Regions from separate parts of the Homo sapiens genome. Here region 2 is linked to region 1. The links are contacts of gene promoters, found by promoter capture Hi-C in blood cells and fetal thymus (Javierre and others, 2016). All regions are on one chromosome and are shown on one strand. Each heading gives the region's core, a stretch centred on a gene start or on the middle of the fragment in contact. The rest is flanking DNA. Distances are from core to core; before and after follow the strand shown.

Region 1 (4,651 bases), core at 902-3,401:
AGATTCTGGACATTTCATATAAATGGAATCATACAACGTGTGGCCCTTTTTGTCCGTCTTTCACTTAGCACAATGTTTTCAAGTTTCATCCCTGTTGTAACAAGTATCAATACTTCCTTTTTGACCAAATAATATTTTTTGTACCACATTTTATTTATCCATTCATCGGGTGACATGTATATTATTTGTTTCTGTCTTTTGGCTATTGTGAATAGTGCTGCTATGAATACTCATGTACAAGTTTTGGTTTGAACACTTGCTTTTAATTCTTTTGGGTAGAAAGCGTAGGCATTAATCTTTGCTCACTCAAAAGGAGATGACCAAATATCTTAAATTCTTCAATCATTCAACAAATATTTACTGAAAACCTACTCTATAGCTGCTTAGAACGCCAAGCACTGGGAATACATACTGCAGTGAATAAGACAGGCATCATCCCTGTCCTCCTTGGGAATAACACAAAATTCAATAAGTGAGTAACACACAGACTTTACAGCATTTAGGATTAGGAATTCCTTTGCTATTAAGGAAAGTAAAAGCTGGTCACAGAGCACCTGGCAAGATGCTCTAACTGGATGCTTTCGGATGAAACAAGCAAACACAACTAAGCGCAATCACATCTGTCACCTTACATCATAAGCCTCAAGTAGGGAGGTTCCCAAGTGGGTCCAGTCGGCAGCTCAACCTCATCAAGGATCTAGCCTTTCTCTATCCTGCTCTGCCATCCTCATGGCCACGCTAAGGAACAGCCACCCGAGGCATCATGTCTTCTCATGGAACAAAGACCAGGGAACAGAAGGGGGGGAGATCCCTTCTCAATCCCTTGTTAGGTGCAAGAAAAACTTTCCCAGAATACTTCTCAGATCTGTTCTGCCCGATTTGCCCCACAGCCTATTCCTAAGCCAATTACTGGCAAGGAATTGGAATCAGGTGCAATGAATAATGTATGATTAATCAAGTTTGAGGCTGGAAGGGGCCCTCTTCCCCTGGGGAATATGATGCCTGAACAAAATACAGGCTCTGGAAAAATGTAAGAGGGAAAGAACGGCTGTAGGATAGGCAGCCAAGCGTGTCTCCACCGCTGCCTATGCAAAGATTTCCTGGAGGAAGTCCAGTCCGGCGTTCTCTAAGCTCCAGGCCTCAACTGAATATCTCAAAAGAAAACAAATATCCAAACCTCAACGTGTCCCAGACTGAATTAATGATTCCCGTTAAAGTAGTGTCTTCCAGTGGTAACTAATACTATCATTCAGATGCTGGAGCCAGGAAAATAAGAGTCACCGTATCTTCTTCTCCCTCATCACCACCTCTAGCGCATCACCAAGTCTTTGAATCCATCTACTCTCTTCGCCTCCACCGCCACCATCCTAATCCCAGTCACTATCAACTCTTCCCTGGAGCTTTGCAACAATCATGTTTGGCTTCCCAGCATCCATTTGTATTTCCCTCCAAACTATTAGTTCACAGTGCAGGTAGGGTGGCCTTTTCAAACCCAAATCTGCTCATGCTCAAAACTTGCTTCCCACTGCTCTTAGAATAGAGACCACTTTGAGCTTGAATAGGCTGTGCACATCCCACCTCAAGACTGCTGCACTTGCTGTTCCTCCTCCAACCCCTTGTCACCCCTCTCCCTCGGCTTAACTGTCATTTCCCAATTAGGTCAGATCCCTTTGCTGCAGCCCGTAGAGAGCTCTGCGCCTGTCCTTCAGGGCACTTTTTCTCCATCTACAGACTCAGATCTGTGACAACACGGAGCTAGTATTTCCTACAACATAATGCCTGGCACACGGTAAGTGCGCAATATGTAGCTGTTGCACGGCTAAATGTATACATAAGCTTCAAAGCAGAGTGGCCCATAGCAAATACGGTCGCAGTCCCGGGAGAAAGCACACACAGCCGAGACCCCACCGCTTCGTCGGCGCCGCCTGGACCAGCCAGTAGCTCCGCCCCTGGGCCCCGCCCCTCCCTGCTGAGCGAACGGGGCGGGGCCCAGAGGTCGCGTGACGTGACAGCAGCCGGTCGGTGATTGGGTCTCCAGGCGCGCCGTGTCGGAAAGGGGGCGCACCCGCGCGCGCTGACTGGCTGTCTGGCGCAGCGGGGCGGACGGCGGCGGCGCCGCGGGGGCGGGCGCCGGTAGGGGCCGGACAGGGTAGGGCCCGGAGGGCGGTGGCGGCGGAGCGGGCGGCATGGGTCCTGGCCGCCGGCTTCGCTGAGACGCGCTCGCGTGGGCTGCCCTCCCGGGCCCGCAGTGGTCGCGGCGGCATGAAGGGCGCTCTGGGGAGTCCCGTGGCTGCCGCTGGCGCCGCGATGCAGGAGAGTTTCGGCTGCGTGGTGGCCAACCGCTTCCATCAGCTGCTGGACGACGAGTCGGACCCGTTCGACATCCTGCGCGAGGCCGAGCGCCGGCGCCAGCAGCAGCTGCAGCGCAAGAGGCGCGACGAGGCGGCGGCGGCGGCCGGGGCCGGTCCCCGCGGCGGCAGGAGCCCAGCCGGGGCCTCGGGCCACAGAGCCGGCGCGGGCGGCCGGAGGGAGTCGCAGAAGGAGCGCAAGAGCCTCCCGGCGCCCGTCGCTCAGCGGCCCGATAGCCCCGGGGGCGGCCTGCAGGCGCCGGGTACGCGGGGACAGCGGGGTTAGCGGACCACGGCTCGGCCCGCTGTGAGACTGGGGTCCCGGGGGCCGGTTTCAGGAGGAGGGGCCCGGGAACAGTAGGGAGAGTTGAGGGTCCTGGTGGCCGCCGAAGGTAGGAGGAGAGGGGCAGGGGTCACACCCCTTCCAGCTCTCGCCAGCCTCGTGCGGGGCTCCGGGGGAAACGCTGGCTTGGGGTGGGATAGGGCCCTCGAACCCTGGCACTGAGGCTCTACGGCAAGTTGGACGAAGTTGAGGGAGGTTGTCTGGGTGGCGTGTGGGGGCGAACGGCTGAGGTCGCTACCCCGGGGCTCCCACATCCAGACCTGGCGGGGACCTTCATCTTCCAGCCCAGCCTCTGCAAGATTGAGGTCGGAGCCACCCGAGAGCGCGGTGGGGAGGAGGAGGGCGCCTGGTCCCGGGGCTGGGGGCCTCTGTGATGCCGGAGGCCTGGGCGACCGCGGGGCGGCCTGTGACGTCGGGGCCCGGGCGGGGGTCCCCGGCGCGGTCCGGCCTGGCGCCTTCGCCCCTTCTCCGTCCGGTAGCTTCCAGGAGGCAGCCGGCATCGTATTTCAGTACTTCGTGTGGTGTTGATGGGATGTGCAACTTATAAATAGCTCAAGGCTGCTTTAAGAAAAGCGTTTTTAACCTTTCCAGCAAGAATATTCGGAGTTCCCCACTCCCTATTTAGCAAGAAAAACCGGTGCGCAGCGTGGTGTCCTGCTGCCTGTGGACGGGGAGGGTGCTTCAGAGTTCATTCTCTCACCGAACTGCGTCAGTGGCAGAGCCAGCAACACTCCACCTGTGTTTCCTGTTTTCTTGAAATGAGGCAGCGGTCCCAAGGTTTGCAGAGTGTTAGGATTAAGATGTGTAGGTTGACCATTCCTGCCGACGTTTGCCAGTGTGTTCAACTTGGCTTTATTGGTTTGTTCCTTGCTTGATAAAAATTGTGCATCGCAGCCCTGAGGAAACGTCTCAGGTTTAAGTATTAGGGCTTTGATGTGCAGCTGGGTAATGTTTACCTTTATTTGTGAAAAGCTAAATCCAGAGTCATCACTTGAGAATCAAGTCACTACAATAAAGATGTTGAAAATGATTTTTAAAAAAATGTTATTTACTATCTCACGACACTTTGGTAGGCCAGTAAATTTCTGAGCCTATCTAAACAGTGAGACTGGAGATACATTGTGCATTTTATATCCTGTTTTTTATCTTTTTCTCTTAAACTTATTTACATCAATATAATAAAGGAATTGAGGAAGGCTAAGCTTTTCTTCACCCTTTATTTTTTAACAAATGAAAATGCCGGGTGTGGTGGCTCACGCCTGTAATCCCAGCAGTTTGGGAGTCCGAGGCGGGCGGATCACGAGGTTAGGAGATCGAGACCATCCTGGCTAACACGGTGAAATCCCGTCTCTATTACAAATACAAAAAATTAGTCGGGCGTGGTGGCGGGCACCTGTAGGTCCAGCTACTCGGGAGGCTGAGGCAGGAGAATGGCGTGAACCCAGGAGGCGGAGCTTGCAGTGAGCCGAGATCGAGCCACTGTACTCCAGTCTGGGAGAAAGAGCGAGACTCCGTCACAAAAAAAAAAAAAAAAAAATTCTGTGCTTCAGAAAAACGTGAGACGAGTTAGTGCTGTTAATACATTGATTTTTAGCCTTTTTAAAATTGTCATGCATTTTTGTGTTAAGAATTTTAAGCAATTCCAAAATGTATGAGGTTAAGTGAAAATCCTCTTATTTTTCCTACTAACACTTTGCATTTATATACATAAATGCACAGAGCTATTTCTTTTCTTTCTAAACTTAAATGATATAAACTGGGTTGCAACCTGTTTCCTGCACTTGATGTTGTCATGTAGTACACTCGTAACTTTTTTTTTCTGTCAGTTGTTAGGTCTAAGTGATCTGGCTTTTGAAATCAACTAAAGGTATTTAGTTGATTTTGTAGTTAGAACGGAAATTTTATCATTCAAGTTCTTTTTCAAGTATGTGTTATTTCAGGAGCAAACAGCTCATTAATT
Region 2 (4,651 bases), core at 1,347-3,846, 400 kb after region 1:
AAGTGCCCCATTTCCTTTCATGAGACAACCATGATACCCTAACTGAACAGGGAAACAGGAAAGTATAGTTTAATCCAATTTGTGAACACAGAAATAAAAATCCTAAATTATTACCATAAAGTGCTAGGAAAACATGTAAGAAGCAACTTACTACACTCATTAGCAACTAGGGTCTATACAGGAATTCAAGTTACTTTTAGAAAATCCATTATATTATTCACAATATTTACAGATTCAAGGACACAGCTATAGATTTATTCTGATACATAAAAAGTATTTAATATAATTCATGTGCATTCATGACTAACATGACATCTTGGCAAACTGGTAACTGGAGGGAACCTACTAACCCTGACAAAGCTGACAGCAGAGTTCATGGTGAAACTGTATATATTTTCCCTCAAGATTTACTTATCTATTTCTCCTTTTCCATTTAATGCAAGGGCCTATCTAAACCTCATAAAATCCATTACAATACAAAGTGGGGAATGAATAAAAAGCTTACCTGAAATGTGTTCATTTTCTGTGGCTCTTGGGAGAGTATAGAGAACTGTAAAGCCTCAGCTGGGGGGACAGAAAGAGGATGTCACACGGTCTCGCCTACCTCACAGCTCCTAGATTAGCCTCCCCAAATCTCAGCAACCCAGTTGGAGAGCAGCCTTCCTAAGGTAACAGGGCCCTTCAGGCCTTGAAAAGGCATGAGAAGCACCACGTAGAGGTGGCACTGTCTACGACAACTCTGAAATAATTATGGGGCTTAAACTGCTGTTTTTTATTGAGTGAACATAAACTTTTCCCAATTGATTTAACAATGCACATGTGCTTCTAACACACACACAAAAATAAAGACAATACAGGATTAGTTGAATTAAAGTACACCACAGGGTAAGACACTATTCTTTCATTAAAATTAACCTAGCAGGTACTGTGGTTCAAGCCTGTAACCCCAGCACTTCGGGAGGCCAAAGAGGGAGGACAGCTTGAGCTCAGGAGTTCAAGACCAACCTGGGCAACATGGCATGACCTTGTCTCTACAGAAAATAAAAACTTAAAAAATTAGCCAGGTGTGGTGGCATGCGCCTGTGGTCCCTGCTACTTGGGAGGCTGAGGCAGGAGGATCACTTGAGCCCAGGAGGTAGAGGCTGCAGTGAGCCATGTTTGTGCCACTGCACTCCTGCCTGGACAACAGGATGAGACTCTGTCTCCAAAACACAAAATTAACTTAGCAGAAAAATATTCAGTGTGCATCATTTAACTATTTTTCTTAGTAATATTATTTACCCTTGGTATAGACAATCCACAGAAAGTCTTATAAAAGAGATGAGATACTTTAAGGCAAAGAGTTTTAGATGTTTTAACTGGGATGTATTTCTCAAAAGGCCCTTTGGATAAGATGCTTTTGGTGACTCACCTGTGAAAGAATGAACGGAACTGTTTTCCTCCTGGCTCTACCACAAACGAGGGATCCCCGGAAACTCACTGAACCTTTCATGCCCAATGTCTTTAAAGCTTTCAAAAGAATCAGAAGTAGATAGCCACGGAAAACCCTTCATGTATCATCATGCATGGGATTCTATGAGGTAGGGACAAAGTCTCCAGTGTCACATATGTTAACAGCAGTATGGCATCTGTAAAGAGTGGAGAACAAAGCGACTGGGGGCTACTTTGGGATCTGGGGACAGAATCTCCGGTTACCCCTACCCTCAGACCTATGCAATGATGTGGCCTTTCCTGAGCAGCCTGTCCCTGGCCACCACCTAGCCCATTTTGCTCTTCTCAAAGCTGGCCCAAACCACCCACTGTCACCCATTGTGTGGTGGCTTCTGGAGGCTTCACCAAGTCTGGCTCATTCTGGGAAGGAGGATCAAGAACTGCTTCTGACCATACACATCTAGGATCTGCTCCTCTGTGGGCTCTTCTGCCTCTGCTCTGAAGCTCGGGAGGGAGGCCTAGGTCTGAGAGGTGTTCTCTTCCAGGTAAAACTGTTCACAGAGACCCCTGCTTCCCACCTCGCAAGGGCTGCTCTGTTCAAGGAGCCTGCGACCTGACCTGAGAAACCATGTTAGTGGCAAAAATCTGACTCTTAGAATTCTTTACATCAGACTTAAAAGAGAGACACCCTGACAATGCAGAAGGGGCCAGGAACCTGTCTGACCCAAGAGATCTGAAGACACACCAGAAATCCAGACTACATTTGACACATGGTAAGATTCCATCTACATCCACTCCCTGAGTATTTGGGGACATGACATTCTGCTAAGTGCTGTGAAGGCTGCAATGCTGGTTTTAGGCAGGTGTGATATTAGCGCCTGAAACGGGAAATAAATCACACCTGCCTTTGAACCCCAGCTCCCTCACTGCTAGCTTGTGACCTGAGCCTCAGTTATATTTAATGCAGATGTGGTTGTGAGGTATACATAGGCACCCAACGAATGGAACAAAGTGTCTTCTAAATATAACAGCAGCAGTCCGCTCATGGCTTAGTAGCCTACAGTCGGCTGTTTGCTTTACAGGTGGTGACTTAAAGTTTTAAACCAACGCCATGAAGCAGTCATTATTAATACCCTCACTTTCAGATGAGAAACCTGACTCTCATCCACGTCCCTACATTCGCCTCGGCTTCCAGTTGACAGAGATGGAACTTACCCGGGTTTTTCCAGCTCCAGAGCTCGGGGTCTCGATGCAGACCCACCGTCCGGGGATTTCGGGCACGTTGTCGCCCGCGTTACAAATGCGCTTTCCCCACCCCCGCCGCCGCTCGCGCCGGGCTCCGGTCCCGCACACCGCGGCCCGCACCCGGCACCTGCTCCGGACCAACGCTCAGCCTCAGCCGCCCCGGGAGCCAGCGGCCGAAGTCCCTCTCCAGCGGCCGGGAAGGCCGAGGGCCCGCCCGGTCGCATCCACTGACACAGGGGGCGGGGATCCCACAAACTTCCCGCTTCCTCTCCCGCTTCCGGGCACAAACGCTGTCCTCCCGCCCCAGCTGCGCCCCCTCTACTTTCCGAGCCGACCCCCGAGCTTCCCAAACCGCTTCCCGGGAGTCTCGAGAACCCAAATGAGGAGGCGGGGCTCTGGCTGCACAGGCGCAGAAGGAGCCCAGGAGCCCCATCCCAGAGTGCTGCGCGGCGAACCAGACTCATTCAGGACTACATTTCCCATAAGCTCTTGCGTCCGCCTTCGACGTGACTCCTCACGTTTCGGCGATTCAGAATTGGCGGGGATGGAGTTTTTATGAAGTCTCCCGCTCAGGCTCTCCAAGAACAGGGAGAAGTTAAAGGTTAAAACTTAAACGCTACTGACAAATACAAAGAGTAGCCCTCCATTGGTTCCCGGTTGAACCAACATTTTTTTTTTCCGTAAGACTTTCGGAGACAATTGGGAAGCTGAATATGGATTGGGAATTGCAAATATTGAAAAAAAGTACCATTACTTTTGTGAACTGTGAAAAAAAATTAAGAATTTTGTAGAAATTTTTTTTTTAAAAAAAGGGATCACTACTGAAGTATTTAGCATTGAAATGATATAACTTTGAATTTACTTTACAATTTTATACATTTTCAACCTGGAACCTCCACCTTGTCTCTTTACAGCCTACCCGACCCATTGACCTGTGAGCCCTGTCCTGGCGCCCCCAGGCGTGAGGGTTCTAAGGCGGGTCGAGCCCGGTGCTGCAGGTGTTAGAGAAAAGCTTTTGGTTTTTATCCCTTAACATTGCTTCTTGCCGAATTCTCTTATTGATTCAACATATTTAAATTTAATGTTAATTATCTTAGGTTTCCATGCGCATTAACGAATTTTCTTGCTTTTTGCTGATTGTTTTTTATTTCCGTAGGTTATTGGGGAACAGATGGTGTTTGGTTACATGAGTAAGTTCTTTAGTGGCGATTTGTGAGATTTTGGTGCACCCATCACCTGAGCAGTATACACTGCACCCCATTTGTAGTCTTTTATCCCTTGCCCCGCTGCCCTCCGCCATTCCCCGCCAAGTCCCCAAAGCCCATTGTGTTATTCTTATGCCTTTGCATTCTCATAGCTTAGCTCCCACTTATGAGTGAGAACTACGATGTTTGGTTTTTCCACTCCTGAGTTACTTCACTTAGAATAATAGTCTCCAATCTCATTCAGGTCGCTGCAAATGCCATTAATTCATTCCTTTTTATGGCTAAGTAGTATATCATCAGATACATACCACAGTTTCTTTATCCAGTTGTTGATTGATGGGTATTTGGGTTGGTTCCACGTTTTTGCAATCGCAAATTGTGCTGCTATAACCATGCATGTGCAAGTATCTTTTTCATATAATGACTTCTTTTCCTCTGGGTAGATACCCAGTAGTGGGATTGCTGGATCCAATGGTAGTTCTACTTTTAGTTCTTTAAAGAATCTCCACACTGTTTTCCATTGTGGTTGTACTAGTTTACATTCCCACCGGCAGTGTAGAAGTTTTCCCTGTTCACTGCAGCCATGCCAGCATCAACTATTTTTTGATTTTTTGATTATGGCCATTCTTGCAGGAGTAAGGTGGTTTTGATTTGGATTTCTCTTATCATTAGTGATGTTGAGCATTTTTTCATATGTTTGTTGGCCATTTGTATATCTTTTTTGAGAATTGTCTATTCATGTCCTTAGCCCACTTTTTGATGGGATTGTT

Evidence for each region. Contacts are between HindIII fragments. The CHiCAGO score rates a contact against its expected background, and 5 or more counts as called.
Region 2: a contact is called between a fragment that was not itself captured here and the fragment with the promoter of HABP4 in region 1, in 1 of 17 cell types (monocytes). The highest score is 5.4, in monocytes.

Annotation. Positions count from the first base shown.
Region 1 is chr9:96,448,018-96,452,668 of GRCh38, forward strand. It overlaps HABP4 (hyaluronan binding protein 4), which reads left to right and starts at 2,152. Exons shown (of 8, transcript NM_014282.4): 1 at 2,152-2,611. The coding sequence starts at 2,263. RefSeq lists an enhancer at 1,570-1,649 and silencers at 1,930-2,469, 2,480-2,539, 2,620-2,669. The HindIII fragment of the contact is 2,057 bases long and covers 1,835-3,891 here.
Region 2 is chr9:96,851,442-96,856,092 of GRCh38, forward strand. ZNF782 (zinc finger protein 782) reads right to left here and starts at 3,073. Exons shown (of 6, transcript NM_001001662.3): 1 at 2,647-3,073; 2 at 1,412-1,628; 3 at 506-564. The coding sequence starts at 520. RefSeq lists silencers at 2,406-2,495, 2,776-2,845. The HindIII fragment of the contact is 2,179 bases long and covers 1,508-3,686 here.